Linked DNA regions of Homo sapiens: all the other regions are linked to region 4. The links are contacts of gene promoters, found by promoter capture Hi-C in blood cells and fetal thymus (Javierre and others, 2016). All regions are on one chromosome and are shown on one strand. The core of a region is centred on a gene start or on the middle of the fragment in contact, and the rest is flanking DNA. Distances in the headings are between cores, read along the strand shown.

Region 1 (2,700 bases), core at 120-2,619, 1.5 Mb after region 4:
AGCTCTTCCCACTGCCAAAGTAGGAGGACCAGAGATAGGATCAAGAAAGCATCTTCAGTCGGATTTAGGTAGGTTATTAAGTGCTGATGATTCTTCTTCAAAGCTAATCCAGAAAAATGGAAGCAGTGGGCCTGACTCACTGAGATAAATAGCTTAGAGGCAAGCAAATCCACGGTTTTGTAGATTTGACTTGAAAAAAATCATTAATTCTTATAGATAAATATCAAAATAGAGAAATGATCAAATGGTGTGAGAATCTAGGAATACTGCATGGGAGGTAGGAATGAAAAATAGAAAAGGGTAATCTACAAGAAAAGAATTTGGCCTCTTCCAGTGGGAACATATCATTTGGAGGTTTTTTATGTTTGAAATTTTTTAAGGACAGAGATGCTCATTATTAATGTGTCTGTGTGTTTGGGCTTGGCCAGCCTAAGATTTTGTATATAAGGAGGCTTAGGAGTAATAATGTGATTAGAAGCGGGCTTGAAGAGGTTGGGGTTGCTAAGGAATTTGTTTTGAAGTTGCATTGCCTGGTAAACATAGTGCTTTTACTAAGATTTTGTGTTTATTGGGGTGGCTTTGCTAGCATCCTCCCGCTCCATTTCAAGCTGTGCCCTTTGGAGTTGTGCTTTTAAACCTTTGAACACTGCTCATATGAGGTATAAAAGGGTTATCCCAAACTATGTGTATCTGTTGCCATGAGCTATTGACAAATGTAATATACAATAATACACATGTCTGGAAAGTAGGAAGATCTATATAAGTAAGGGAAATGTATGAATTTTATACTGAAAGCTTTTATTATAAAATGAGCCATTATGTCCTCTGCCTTATTTTGAAGCCATTCACTTTTTATTACTGTAACTTTTGCAATGCCTCATTTTCCCTCCAGCTATCCTCTAGTCCAGTTAACTCAGCAAGCACAAGTTTATGATGGATCATTTAAGGAGCTGGAAAATTTTAATGGTTAGCCGTGGCAGTTATGATGTGTAAGACTCTAACTGCTTTAAGTAAAAGGACAAAGTTCAAAATATAACTCCATCTTTATAAGTGCTTTAATTAAAACCAATCTTATTATGAAAAACAAACCAAAAAAACCTTGCATTGATGGATGGTAGCTATTTGCAATTTCTTGTTTTGGCTGGATGCATTGAAGGATTAAAAATTTAATATTTAAGGTGTGCCTTAAACTGCAAGGTTCCCTGATTTTATTCTCATCTAGGAATTTTTGCTGCTTTAGGTAGCTGACAACATGCAGATCCATACTCTATCTCTTAAGATTTTCTTTTGGAACTGATTCCAGGTGAAATTTTCTTAGGGAAGATGTGGCTAGAAGCTGGGTATGCAAAGCATGTCTATAGCAAGGAAAGCCAGATGAGTGAGGGTCAAAAATCTAGTTATAAAATTTAAGGGAGACACTAGGTTTAAATAAACATATTCTCCAACCTTAGTGATTAATTTTTTTCCTTTTTTGATCATCTGGCCATGTACTTAGAGAAGACTCAGTTCCCTGAAAATGGATTACTTTGAATATTCTCTGCAATAATTTAATGTAGTACTCTCCATTTCTCTACCAACTGCCTGTTGCTAAGCCACCAACACTTAACTGTCCTTAGGAAGAACTAATATACAATAATCAACTTTGTGGAAGGCACATCTATGTACATAAACTTTAACTGGGAAGTTGTCTTTAAATAAAAATGACACAATATGCTCCAAAGCTGTGTGTGATTACAGAATGAGAAGCTGAAAAACTACTCACGTTTATCAAGTAAAGCCTCAGAGAAATATTACGGTTTCACCACTAGGTGGAAATAGAGTAATTTTGAGTACGCTTTTTCAAGGCCATGAACTTCTACTGCAGGAGTACTTCATAAACTGAAGGGGACCTAAAAAATCATTTAGTATTAATTCTCATCTCCTTAAATTCATAGATGATAAAACTAAGCTTCAGAGATATTAAGTAAAATTGCATCTGTCTTGAAAAAGGCAGTTTTCTAAGCTACTGGAAGAAGAGTTGCTAGTAATTCTTGATTCTTCAGTCATTTTCATCCATAAGAATAATGTGTTATTATCTTCCAGTGTGAAGGAAAACATGATATAACACCTGTATTACCTATGTGCTGTTACTAAAAATAATGAACAGCACAGTTACTAATGTTCGTAAGGACAGGTTAGGATAAAACTATTGTTTCTTGTTTCCTATGTTGTAATTAATCACAATCAAGTGATGATTCTCCTCCTTCTTTCCAAGAAGAAATACTCAACCATCTCCATAAAGTTATATGAGACTTCAGTGAAATTTGATTTCACAACATTTTTGGTTTTACACCTCATAATGGGTGCAAGGTAAGTAGCCTAGAATAGGCCTTTACTTAGCGGGTGAAGGCAGTACTTAACTGCTTTTTCACAGCTTAAAATCCATTACCATTACTCTGGAGAAGGAAAGAATCTGAGTAGTAGAGCTTAAGGGGCATTAGAAATAATCTACTCCAATCATACATCTGTATATGCATCAGATGTGGTGTCTGAAAACAAGACATTCAATGTGTTTCCCTGAGGAACAGAGCAATCACCATGCCCTTTTTTGTTCCACAAGATACAATAACGGTTATTATTCTGGCCATATAGCTTTGTTTTGTCTGTATGTTTTAACACAAAAGAATTATTTCCACTCATCACATCAGAGATTGTGTTTAA
Region 2 (2,700 bases), core at 161-2,660, 1.3 Mb before region 4:
AGTGAGTCTCAGAGCGATGAATTAAGCTGTTCTAGCTTTCAAAGAGCATATATTCTATGACCAAGAATTCTAACTAAGTTTTGTTGGAAAGCTGTTGGCTACATTATCACCTAACTTTGGGACTGATAGATGGATGGAAACATCTCATTTAGCAAAGGTGCTTCCCTGGCCTTGTGCAATTGCACTGTTTAGGTTGCTGGACAAATCCATAGTGTAAAGCTGGCCTGTATCAAGTGACGGTCAATTCAAACAGCAAGGCAAGTTAAAAGAGGGAACTCCATTCCACAGAACCCTAGTGTCAAGGAACCTCCCGACTGGAAAATGACTCAACAGCTAGGCGGAAACCCTGGCTCAGCTACAAAGAGAGCAAATTTAGTCCCATTTTTCCTTAAACATTCAACCCTCAAACCTGAAGAGATTTGGGAAAGAAGCAAAACGGGAGGGTGGGGGAGAGAGAACAGTCTTGTTAACAGCTAGTGTTAATTTAAAAAGAGAAGGAAAGGGCTTATATGAATACATGCTTATTTCATTCCCAAAGCAAATTTTCATAAATCCTTAGGGAAAGAGAGATAGTCATTTGCTAATGTAGACTCTGCTTTTTGATTCCCAAATGTTACAGCTGTCACCACAACAGTTTGCCCAATTATGTGGCAGGGAGGGGAGGGGGTCCAGAGCAAAGGAAGTAGGAGGAAGAGATGTTAGAGGGAACATCTGTGCACAAGTGCACCATAAACACAACAAAATCATGGGGCCACCCCACTGTTTCTTTGAGCGCTTTCTCTGGTTGGCCCCACTTCTCCAGTCTTTTAGGAGATTCCCGTTCTATTACGTAGGTGAGAGGGCGAAAGGTTCTAGCTTTCAAAATTGTGAGTGGTTTGGCTGTGTGCATACGTGTGTGTGCGCGCGTGTGTGCGTGTGTGTGTGTGTTTGCGTGTGTGTCTGTTGGCGGGGGCGGGGGTGATGGAGAGAGCTATGAAGGGCTTAGAAAGCTTCATTACCAATTTAAAATGTTTTTGTAGTGCTTGAATGTTTATCTTAAAAGACAATTCCTGCTCTCAAATTCAGCCAAATGAACAATGCTGATAAGGAAGATGAAGAGGGTGGGAAACCCACAGGGGCAAATGGAACAGTCCATGCAGCCGGGGTGACGGGGGAGCGCTCGGAGGAAGGACGCTATGCAGAGAAAGCCCCCCTGGCTCTTCTCTCTCAATCCATAATCCAGCGATGCTGCAGCTGTAAAAGCATTAATAGAAAATCAATCCACAACCTCGCGGGGCAGCGATCGTCGAGCGCCGTTTCCAGGCTGCCTTCCCTGGGGTCGGGAGCGGCCCCGCTCCCCCCGTGGCTGGCGCGGAATGTGGTGATCCGTCCCGGGGCGGGGATGACTTCATGCAGCCGGAGCTCCGCGGCGGGAGCGGAGGCTGCTGCTGGCAGGTGGGGCGCGGGCCGGCGCGAGCTGACCGAGCACTCGGCGGGCGCGGCGGGACTGCGGCCCGTGGCGGCGTGCGCGGGGACCTGCGCTGACTAGGTCCGGGGAAGGTAAGCAGCCCGGCACCGGTGCGCCCTGGCCGCACTGCGTGGAGCTTTCCGCTTGGTTAATAATGGGGTTTGCAGCACGGAGGGAAGAAGGGGAGAACCCCGCTGCATTCTGCAATGAGAAAAGGAGCAACAACTAGGATGGAAATGTTGGGCGGCCAAGTGCAGAGGTTGGAGGAGCAGTGTTACTGGGCAAACAAAGAAGGCGTTCTTGCCTCTATACTCTTTTGAACGTGATCTACCATTTCAGTGCCAGATTCGCGTAGACAGTGAAGAGGACTCAAAATTTAAAATAATTTGAGTTACTCTTTTGCTTTCTGTGCCTTTTACCTTCGCTTGAGTATTTTGAGGATTTGGAGCAGTAGGTCCCTGGCAGCAGCCTGAGGTAATCAGAAATCGTCCCTCTTCCTGTAGTCCTTGGTCCTCTCCCTTTCCAGTTATCAGAATGGGTCTGTGCCCCTCTCAATGGCAAAACACCTGCTTCAAGACTGAACCTTTAGAAAGAGCCTCTATCTGGAGGGGAAACTTCTCTTATCTCCTGGAGTTCAGCTTGGGTTGAGCAGCACTTGACATCGCTTCTTCCTTCAATTGCCATTTTCTCTGTCAATCATTTCATTGATCTTTTTCGGAGATGCTGTGCCCATTCACAGACCAACTCTCGTCAGCTCTTATCCACCACCTGGGTTCCATGACTGATTTTGTCAAGGTCCCAAAAAGGGCATTGCCTCACACAGATTTCTTATTCGGTATTCTCCCTGTATACTGTTACCTGTGTCCTTCCCCCAAATGCATGGAATGAAATATCCTGCTTGTGGCCCTGTACCAACATGTTATCCCATTAACTCCCTTCGCTGTAGTCACTGTGGCTACTTGAAAGCTAGAGAGGACAGATAGAATCTACTGGAGTGTGAGGGATGTTCCCTATGCATAGGCATAGGTAGAAGTAAAAATGTGAATGCCAGTCCATCCAGTTTTTCTTGAAGCAATTTTAGTCCAGTTGGATTTTGAGACAGCTAGCTGTTAAGATTTGGGACAAATCCTTTCCAAAAGGCAGAGGAGTCCGTTTGCCTCTAGGATTCCTCAAGAACCTCAAAAGAGTTTCCAGTGAGGTTTTCCTCGTAGGCAGTCAGAAAGCCAATGGAGCTGCCCAATCTAAGCCTCTGG
Region 3 (2,700 bases), core at 43-2,542, 1.1 Mb after region 4:
CCTGTGACTTACTTCTAACCAACAGAATATGGCCAAGTTTCTGGCCTATTCCTCCTGACTACATTGCATTATGCAAGGCTCCATCTTGCTGGCAGGCAGGCTCTAAGATTCTCCTTGCTGGCTTGATGAAGTAAGAGGCCAAGCTAAGGAGTCCCATGTGACAAAAAACAGCAGTAAGTAGGGAAGGGGAGGGGGAGAAGAGCTCTACAAGCTGAGAACAACTTCCAACTGATAACCAGCAAGAAGCTAGGACCCTCAGTCCTACAGATGCAAGGGAATGAATTCTGCCAACAATCTATGTAAGCTTACAAGTTAATTATTCCCTGGTCAAGCCTTCAGATGAGAACTCAACCCATGTAGCACCCTGATTGCAGCCTTGTGAGACTCTTCACAGAAAACCTAGTTAAGCTGAGCCTAGACTCCTAACCCACAGAAACTCTAAGAACTGTTTTAAAGCAAAAAAAAATTTGTAGTAATTTGTTACACTACACTACAATAGAAAACTAATAACCCCTCTTCCACATAATTCCCATGATGCTTTAGTCATAACACTAGGGTCTACTGTATCCCATCTTTTAAAAAAACCTAGGCCATAGGCCTTCCAGCTATTCCTCCTCCTCTTTGTTCTCCTTTCCAAAAAACTTGTCAAAAGAGTTTTTCCTGTGTCCCTCTGTCCACACCTCTCATCGGCTGCTCAGCCTACTCCAAGCACATCACTCAAACTTCTCTTGTCAAGGACACTAGTAAGTTCCATCTTATCTAATCCAAATGAACATCTCTCTCTCTCTTTCTTATTCTATATCTCAGCAGCATTCAATACAGTTCATTACTCCCCACCCACTTTTTGGAACTATTTCTTCTCTTGGCTTATTGGACTTTAGATTTTCTAGTTTTCCTTCTACTTATTTGGCTGCTGCTTCTCAATAGTGTTTGCTGGCTTCTCCATTTACACCCAAACTTAAATAGTGCTGTGCCCCAGAATCAGGCCCCAGGCTCTCCTCTCTTGGCCCCCTGCACTCCCTTAAAGCCCCCAGGCTTTACATGACATTAACATACTGATGTCGCTCAAATTCCTCCCACTATCCCTGACCTCTCCTATCCACTCCCCATCTCACCACCATCTGCCTAACCACACCCTCCACCTGGTTGTCCAATAGTCATCTCAGAATTCACATGCACAAAACAGAAAACCTGATTTTTGTTCTCTCGGTTTTCCTAATCTTAGTAAATGGTACCTTCAACCAACATTTACATCATGGTCTCATCCTGGATTCCTCCCTTTCCTTCATTACCCATCAACCAACCCATCCACAAGTTCTTGTAGGTTGATCCTCACAATAGATTCTGAATTTGCCATCTCCTGCCAATCTCTAACTCCAAGCTGCCCTCTCCCTCCCTTGGTCTGTGTAGTGACAGCCACCCAACTGGCCTCCCTGCCTCTACTACTGTCCTCCACACAGCATGGATCTTTTGAAAACTACAAATTACCTTGTAAGACTTTATTGCTTAAAACTTTTCAAAGATTTCACTATCCTTTTAAAGGGCCCACCAGGCTCTCTTTGCAGGCACCTCCCAGCCTCCTTGACATATCTCATACCTACCAAGTTCCAGCCACACTCACCCTTTTCTCCTTTCCACCTCAAGACTTGCAACTGCTACTCCCTCTGCCTGGAAAGCTCTTCCCATGCGAAATGTCTCATATCTCAGGTCAAATGTTCCCTCCTCAGAGAGATCTCACCCACAGTAGCTTTCTCTTCTTCCTTTGAAACTCTAAGATATCATGATTTTCTTCACAGGACACACCACAATCTGAAGTGTTATTCTTGCTTATGCATGTACATCTGCATCTATGTATTTGATTGTTGCTATGATGCCTCTCACTAGATGTGAGCATCAGGAAGGTGTCCACTGCTATGTTCTAGAATAGCTGCTAGCACATAATAGGTGTTCAATAAATATTTGTTGAATAAATGAATGCATGAATATATGTAAGAGGTTAACATTCGTATATGCATTATAATAAAATTATCTAGTGATATTCCATTAGAAAATCTCTTCAGATACAGTGTCTTTAAAAGAGTAATTTAAAAGATAAACCTCAAATGACTCCAACATTCTGTGTAAATTTCTGAAGTTGTGGGCAAATGAGAGTGTTATAAAATGAAGCCCATTTTGAAAGAATTTAAAGGAAATTTACTTGAAGATGTGAAAAACCTTTACTGATCAAGTGAATTATCACACTCATTATTCTGTTTTTACGGATTTGATTTTTTCCCTATATTAAGCTTGTTTTCATCACAGAGCATAAATTATTATTGTTTCTATCACAAATTGTGCAATCACTATTCAAACCACAGGACACACTTTCAGTATTTCTGGACAAAAATGCTAAGGAGTCACTACTCTTGATATTCAATGTCACTGACACCATGTGACTTCATTTCAAACCCAGCTATATCTTGTAGCCATACAATGCAGGCTTTTCAACAGACCATGGTAATGAATGTGGTCACGGTTTGGATTTCAACAAGCAGCTGTCAAAAACTATCATCCCAAATAACTACTTGCTGAAAATTTCTCACTCCCAGAGCTGGTACTTCCAGGGTGGTCTAGGAAATAAATTTCTGCCCACATCTACTCTGGGGCTATTCTAATTGCCGATGTTCAACATTTCTTTGGAAATGCAACTTCAAGCTTTGA
Region 4 (2,700 bases), core at 136-2,635:
GCTGTCACAACTTTTGAAGACCTCACAAATAATAGGTATTTTTCCAAAAGATGCACTAGCTCAATCCGCAGAGAGCTGGGGTGGTGAATTCACTGGAGAAGATTCTATGTGCATTCGAAAATGTACTGACAGGGAACTGCACACACCACACACCGTTCTCTCCCCACCCCCAAAGAAAAATCAGGCAGCTACTGCACCAATCCTGGCCTTCAGCCGCTGCTCACTCTTTGCCAACCATTCAGAGCCCCCACTAGGTCTAGGAGATGTACCTTTCCCTCCTGCCGTATGCAGCATTTTCAGGTGATCCACGGTCATCTGCAGGATCTCGGCTTTTTCTAGCTTAGCAGATCCCTAAAGATGAGAATGGCAAAAGATTGATTTGGCACAAGTTCCTTTGGGGAACAATTTAAAATATGCAAACATATATACAAAGATACATGCTTTGTAAATCGTAAAGCATGGACTAAAGCAAAATCAGTTGTCTTCACAAAATACGCTGGTATCTGTGTACGAATTCATCTAGGCACAAGCAACACAGCTATTTTCCAAGGCGGATGAGATTAATGAGGGGAAGATTCAGAAGGTGCAGATAGCTATGCTGAGAGCTTTACCTACTTGCTCCATTACCTGCTTCTCAAAAGCACTGGGTACCAGCCTTCTCAGCTCAGACAAACTGTTATTGATCCGGTCTCGTCGGCGCTTCTCAATTATCTGCAGAAGGCAAGCAAAACAAAGGAAGGCATTACCATTACGACTGTAAATTTCAAAGACAAAAAAAAAGGTGGTTATTTCCGTTAATCAATAACAAAAATAAAAGGAGAGTGTAAAGAGACTCACTCCTCTCCGTCTTTTTCTGGCCAAAATCTGGGAAGATGTAGTTGGGGACATGGAACCTAGAGCCGAACTCAAGTTTCTGAAAAGAGAAAAAGAACAAACAAAAACTGAAATCGCCGTTAAACGAGGAGAGGTGATCTGAGAGGTCGCCCCCACACCCTCCCCGCACTCAGACTTTTTTTGCCACTTGGGCTGGAAGGCACCTAGGGGTTCCCTGGCCGCAGGCTGCCGCCAGCCTGCGACGCGCGGAGGTCAGCGCAGGGCACCGGCGCGCCAAGGGTCCTAGCCCGCTGTCACCGCGGCAGGCCTGCGCTCGCCTCCCGCTCTGGCTCGGCTCCGCTCCGCCGCCGCCAGCTCACCCATTCTCGTCCGCACTCTCCTTCTCCACCTCGATGGTCTCGTCCAGCTCGCTGTCCGAGGAGCTGTACTCGGGGTGAGCTCGCTTCATGCTGGCTCCCTGGGGGTTCCTGGGGAGGGTCGGCGCGGCGGGCAGGGAGGAGTTAACTACAGCGGCGCCTCTCCGCTCTCGGCTGCTTGCGTTCCGCACACACTGATCCCGCTCACGCTTTGCCTCTGGTTAAAACTCAACCATCCTTTCCCACGCTGAGCCCCTTCCCAGGGCCCTGGGGAGGGCGGGGGAGTGGGGAAGGCGGGCGAGGGGGCGGAGAGGCGGGGCGGCAACTCCAGGGCAACAGCCGCCCCCCGGCCAATCCGGTTTCTCGCGCCGCTGATTGGCAGCCGCTCCGGGGAGGGGCGGGAGCGAGGCCGAGGGCTCTAGCGGACCGCGCCCCCGCCCTCCGCGCCCGCCCCTGCCCGGCGGCGGTGCGTCGGCTCCGCGGGGGCTCTGTCCAGCCTGCACTCAGGGGAAGGAGGAGGCGCGGGCGGCGGGGAGGCGCGGGAGGCCGGGCCGGGACACAAGCCCGCCGGCGGCCGCGGCTCCTCCCCGCCCCGCGCGCCCCGATTGGCCTGGCCGCGCGCCAGGGCCGAGCCTGCAGCGCCTCCGGTGAGCCGCACGCGCCGCGGGCCGTGGGAAAGTGCCGGCGCCGCGGCCGCCAGCCAATCCGGGCGGCCGGCGACGGCGACGGCGGCGGCCGCGCTGGCGGCGGCGGCGGCGGCGCTGGGCGTCCGCATGAATGGAGAAGAATGGGCAGGCGGGGAGCCGGGCCGCGCGAGGGCGCGCCGGCGGGGGCTGGGCGGCCGCCGGCCGGGCCCCCAGTGTGAACCTGTAATCGGAGCCTGGGCGCCGGCCGGCCTCGGAAGCCGCCGCCTAGCGCCACCGTAAATCTCGCCCGCGTGGCCGCCAGTGCCCGGCGGCTGGAGGCGCGCGCTGTTAGTGGGGCCGTGCCGGGTGCACCTGGCCGGGCTGCGCGCCGGCGGCTCCGCGGAACCCGCAGGGAGCCGGGAGAGGGGGCGCCGGGCGCGTCCACAGTGGCCACCAGCCCAGGGGCCGGTCACATGGAGGAGCAAGCTGTGGGCTCAGGGGACGCTCTTTTTGATTTCTGGGACCGAGGCCGCACATGCAGCCAGACTCGTTTCCGCAGGGGCTTCCCAGCCGCGGAATGGAATGAATACCCCTGTGCATCTCATTTCCGGGGAAGGGGAGCACTTGTTTTTTCGGCCGCCTTGGGGAAAAAAAAACCCAACGGTCCCTGGGAATAATCATTATGCTGGGATTTTTTTGTTGTTCCCCCGCTGCCCCCCCCCCCGCCCCCTCCCCCCGGCGGCCAGATCCTCTCAGCGGGCGACAGGGTGGCGGTGCTGGCGTTTGCGTCTGAGGCCGGCCTTGCTGAGGGAATGCACGTCTCTGGCCCCAGACACACACCTCTGGCTTCGGTGGCTTGGCGTGGCGTGTACTGGGTGCCACGT
Region 5 (2,700 bases), core at 66-2,565, 1.3 Mb after region 4:
CTCATTCAAGTCACAAAAGTGATCAGGGGAGACTTTTACTATAGAATAACCAACCCAGAGCAGGGGAACACTTGAAATTAACTATTAAGTAAGCAAAAGGGAATATCTGTTCTCTGAAAAGGAGGGTTCAAGTTGAAACAGAAGATAATTCAGAGATGTGAGATGACTCAGTCAATGGCAGGGGCTCTTTTGGGCACTTTGCAACTATGGTATTGTGTCCCCAGGCACATGGAGGCAGCCTACAGGAAGAGTAGAACTCTCGAAGAGTTTTGATTTTTTTTTTAAAGCCAACTTTGAGCATTTATATTGAAGCACCATTCAGTGTTAGCATACATTAGCTAAGAGATTTCATTAAACATTAAATCAGTCTGTGATTTAAATTAAATCAGACTGTGAGCAGTCTGTGGTCTATGTGCCCTATACGGCAATTAGATTTTAATCTCTAGAAATAAGACTTACAAAAGGCGAGAACACTATCTAGTATTTGGGTGATAACCTAACACAGCCACAAAAATGCCATGACCTCTCAATCATTCCCCACCTCTGGAACCCAGCTGAGAAGTCTAACAAGCTATGGAAACCTTAAAGGAAGTACTGCTCACACAGCACCCCGGAATCTGCTTCCCATGACATGGGGTACTAAGGCTTGAAGGAAGCATGCTTATTTAATGGTAAGTATAAATTATTTCTTTTTCTGAACATGCAGTTTAATATGAGGCAAAGTGCAAGGCCTCTCTCTGCCCAAGGGAGTTCTCCAGCTGGGACTGAATGCATATCCAGGGATGACGCTGTTTGTGGATTGATTACTGCTGCCGTGGTGGTTTCCTTGACTGTGTAGATTGCTGCAGCTACACGTGCAGGCAGGAAACCAAATGGAGACCACCACCCTCCAGTGTAAACTCTAACATCACACCAATTTTTCTTTTTTGACTCTCTGAATGCATGAATAGAAAAATAATAAAGCAACAGAATCCACTTCAAATTGAAAGACCTGGCACCTCTACCACACATTAGGAGGTATGGAAGCATGGGCAAGTTATTTAACAATAATTATGATCATTTCTGTTGTGGGTGCTGTTAAGCACTTTGCATACTTTAATCCTTAAGCTTAGATTTCTTCATGTATAAATTGAGGATAATAATGCAACTACTTCATTTGCAAGTTGAGGCAGCAGGGTCAAAAAGAACACAGTTTCAACACAGACAGACGTGGGTTAAATGCCAGCTCCAATTTCTACTATTTGATCTCACTGAGCTCCCATTTTCTCATCTCTAAAGTAGAGATGAAGCCACTTACCTCAAAGGACTGTGGTGGGGAATTGAGCAAGACAGTGTTAAATACCAGTTGGTGTCTGTATCGCTAGACAGTGCACAATAAATGTTTATACCTTCTCTCCTATTATACACATGAACTGCTTCTGTTAATATTCATCAGCAGCAATTCAATGTCCATAGCAGCAATTCAATGTCCATAGAGTCCAAAGATGCATTTCCTTTCATAACAATGAAAATTTTTCCCAGAACAAGCTTAATATGCCAGATACTGGCCCAACAGCTCTATGTCTATGAACTCATTTAATTCTCACTACTGTTCAGTGGGGTAGGTACTACTACTGTCATCCCCATTGTACAGATGAAGACACTGAGGCACAGACTTTGGGTTACTTGCCTAGATTCAAACAGATGGTACCAGAGCTGGCAGCCTGGCTCCATAGCCTGTCCTCCTAACCAGGCTGCAATAGGGCTTAATGGGTCAATCTGTTTGAGATTCCATGCTTGGATGTAATCTCTTCTAGAGATAAGCACTGGATGCTCTCACAAACCGCAATGTGTTGATGTGACTAACTTTTCAACTTCTGAAATAACATTTTGTGTATTTTCTTAGTATTCCTAAAAAAAAACCCTTTACACTTTAAATAAGGTGCCTATAACTAGTTCATCTTGTTCTGCATGCTGAAATACCATAAATAAATGCACTTCTCTCTTCAAAGATTATGTAAATAAATCTTACATTAAAACATACCCCTGAGCTTTGGTTTAAACAATAATTTCAAGTCCAAATTAAACATTTATGTATGTGTATATATATTTAGCAGGAAAGTCTTAATATGACCTATTTTGTTAAACTAATGACATCTATACCCAATACTCCAAATATTCCTCTTATTTATAATATTCGCTGTGTAACAGTCACACAGCAGTACTGCATGGTACTTCAAAGTACTATTCCTTTTACAAGTTTAACCAACTCAGGTATTAAACATCAATGATGATAATCCATAGCTCTGCTTAAAAGGAATCTCTCGGGAACAGCTGAGAAAGAAAGGTTAAAGATTTCTATCCTTCAAAGTAGGGCACTGCAGCTACCTATAAATCATGCTCTTTGTTTATTAAGATAATTAGGCCCATCAGTACACTTAACTTTTAGACTCAACAATTGTCTGGCATGAACAATTTCCACTTTTTCTAAAACAAAGGGGATGTGTTCAAAAAGCGGTCCTCTGCATGCTCTCTGCACAATGCATGCTATTTTAAAACATGATTTATGGGTCTAATTCCTGGAGCTGCCTTGAAAAATATAGTGGGTTGTTCCTCCCATGCTCCCTATTAGGAGAAGACACTCCAATTTGAAGAGTGCACTCTGTTTCAGACTTCAGGCCGCTATATCATGTCAGCATTTTCAGTAAATACTGTTCAATT

The links. Contacts are between HindIII fragments. The CHiCAGO score rates a contact against its expected background, and 5 or more counts as called.
Region 1: a contact is called between a fragment that was not itself captured here and the fragment with the promoter of HEY1 in region 4, in 3 of 17 cell types (activated CD4 T cells, fetal thymus and naive CD8 T cells). The highest score is 6.9, in activated CD4 T cells.
Region 2: the fragment with the promoter of PKIA here is called in contact with the fragment with the promoter of HEY1 in region 4 in 1 of 17 cell types (fetal thymus); the score reaches 5.6 in fetal thymus.
Region 3: a fragment that was not itself captured here is called in contact with the fragment with the promoter of HEY1 in region 4 in 1 of 17 cell types (fetal thymus); the score reaches 5.7 in fetal thymus.
Region 5: a contact is called between a fragment that was not itself captured here and the fragment with the promoter of HEY1 in region 4, in 1 of 17 cell types (fetal thymus). The highest score is 7.3, in fetal thymus.

The regions. Positions count from the first base shown.
Region 1 is chr8:81,276,091-81,278,790 of GRCh38, forward strand. It overlaps LNMICC (lncRNA associated with lymph node metastasis in cervical cancer), which reads right to left. Exons shown (of 2, transcript NR_186603.1): 2 at 1-2,700. Among named protein-coding and RNA genes, the nearest start is that of FABP5, 3.1 kb to the right of the region's middle. The HindIII fragment of the contact is 1,153 bases long and covers 794-1,946 here.
Region 2 is chr8:78,514,930-78,517,629 of GRCh38, forward strand. It overlaps PKIA (cAMP-dependent protein kinase inhibitor alpha), which reads left to right and starts at 1,411. Exons shown (of 4, transcript NM_006823.4): 1 at 1,411-1,539. All of the region lies in intron 2 of LOC105375911 (a long non-coding RNA gene), which reads right to left. RefSeq lists a silencer at 1,356-1,655 and an enhancer at 1,976-2,085. The HindIII fragment of the contact is 11,771 bases long and covers 988-2,700 here.
Region 3 is chr8:80,869,725-80,872,424 of GRCh38, forward strand. The region is part of intron 1 of ZNF704 (zinc finger protein 704); the gene reads right to left. Among named protein-coding and RNA genes, the nearest start is that of ZNF704, 3.7 kb to the right of the region's middle. The HindIII fragment of the contact is 1,981 bases long and covers 303-2,283 here.
Region 4 is chr8:79,766,382-79,769,081 of GRCh38, forward strand. HEY1 (hes related family bHLH transcription factor with YRPW motif 1) reads right to left here and starts at 1,386. Exons shown (of 5, transcript NM_012258.4): 1 at 1,194-1,386; 2 at 838-913; 3 at 628-711; 4 at 270-351. The coding sequence starts at 1,282. It overlaps LINC01607 (long intergenic non-protein coding RNA 1607), which reads left to right and starts at 1,761. Exons shown (of 4, transcript NR_125410.1): 1 at 1,761-1,837. RefSeq lists an enhancer at 909-958 and silencers at 1,409-1,888, 1,929-2,288, 2,389-2,558. The HindIII fragment of the contact is 6,216 bases long and covers 1-2,700 here.
Region 5 is chr8:81,108,162-81,110,861 of GRCh38, forward strand. The region is part of intron 1 of PAG1 (phosphoprotein membrane anchor with glycosphingolipid microdomains 1); the gene reads right to left. Among named protein-coding and RNA genes, the nearest start is that of PAG1, 2.6 kb to the right of the region's middle. The HindIII fragment of the contact is 420 bases long and covers 1,106-1,525 here.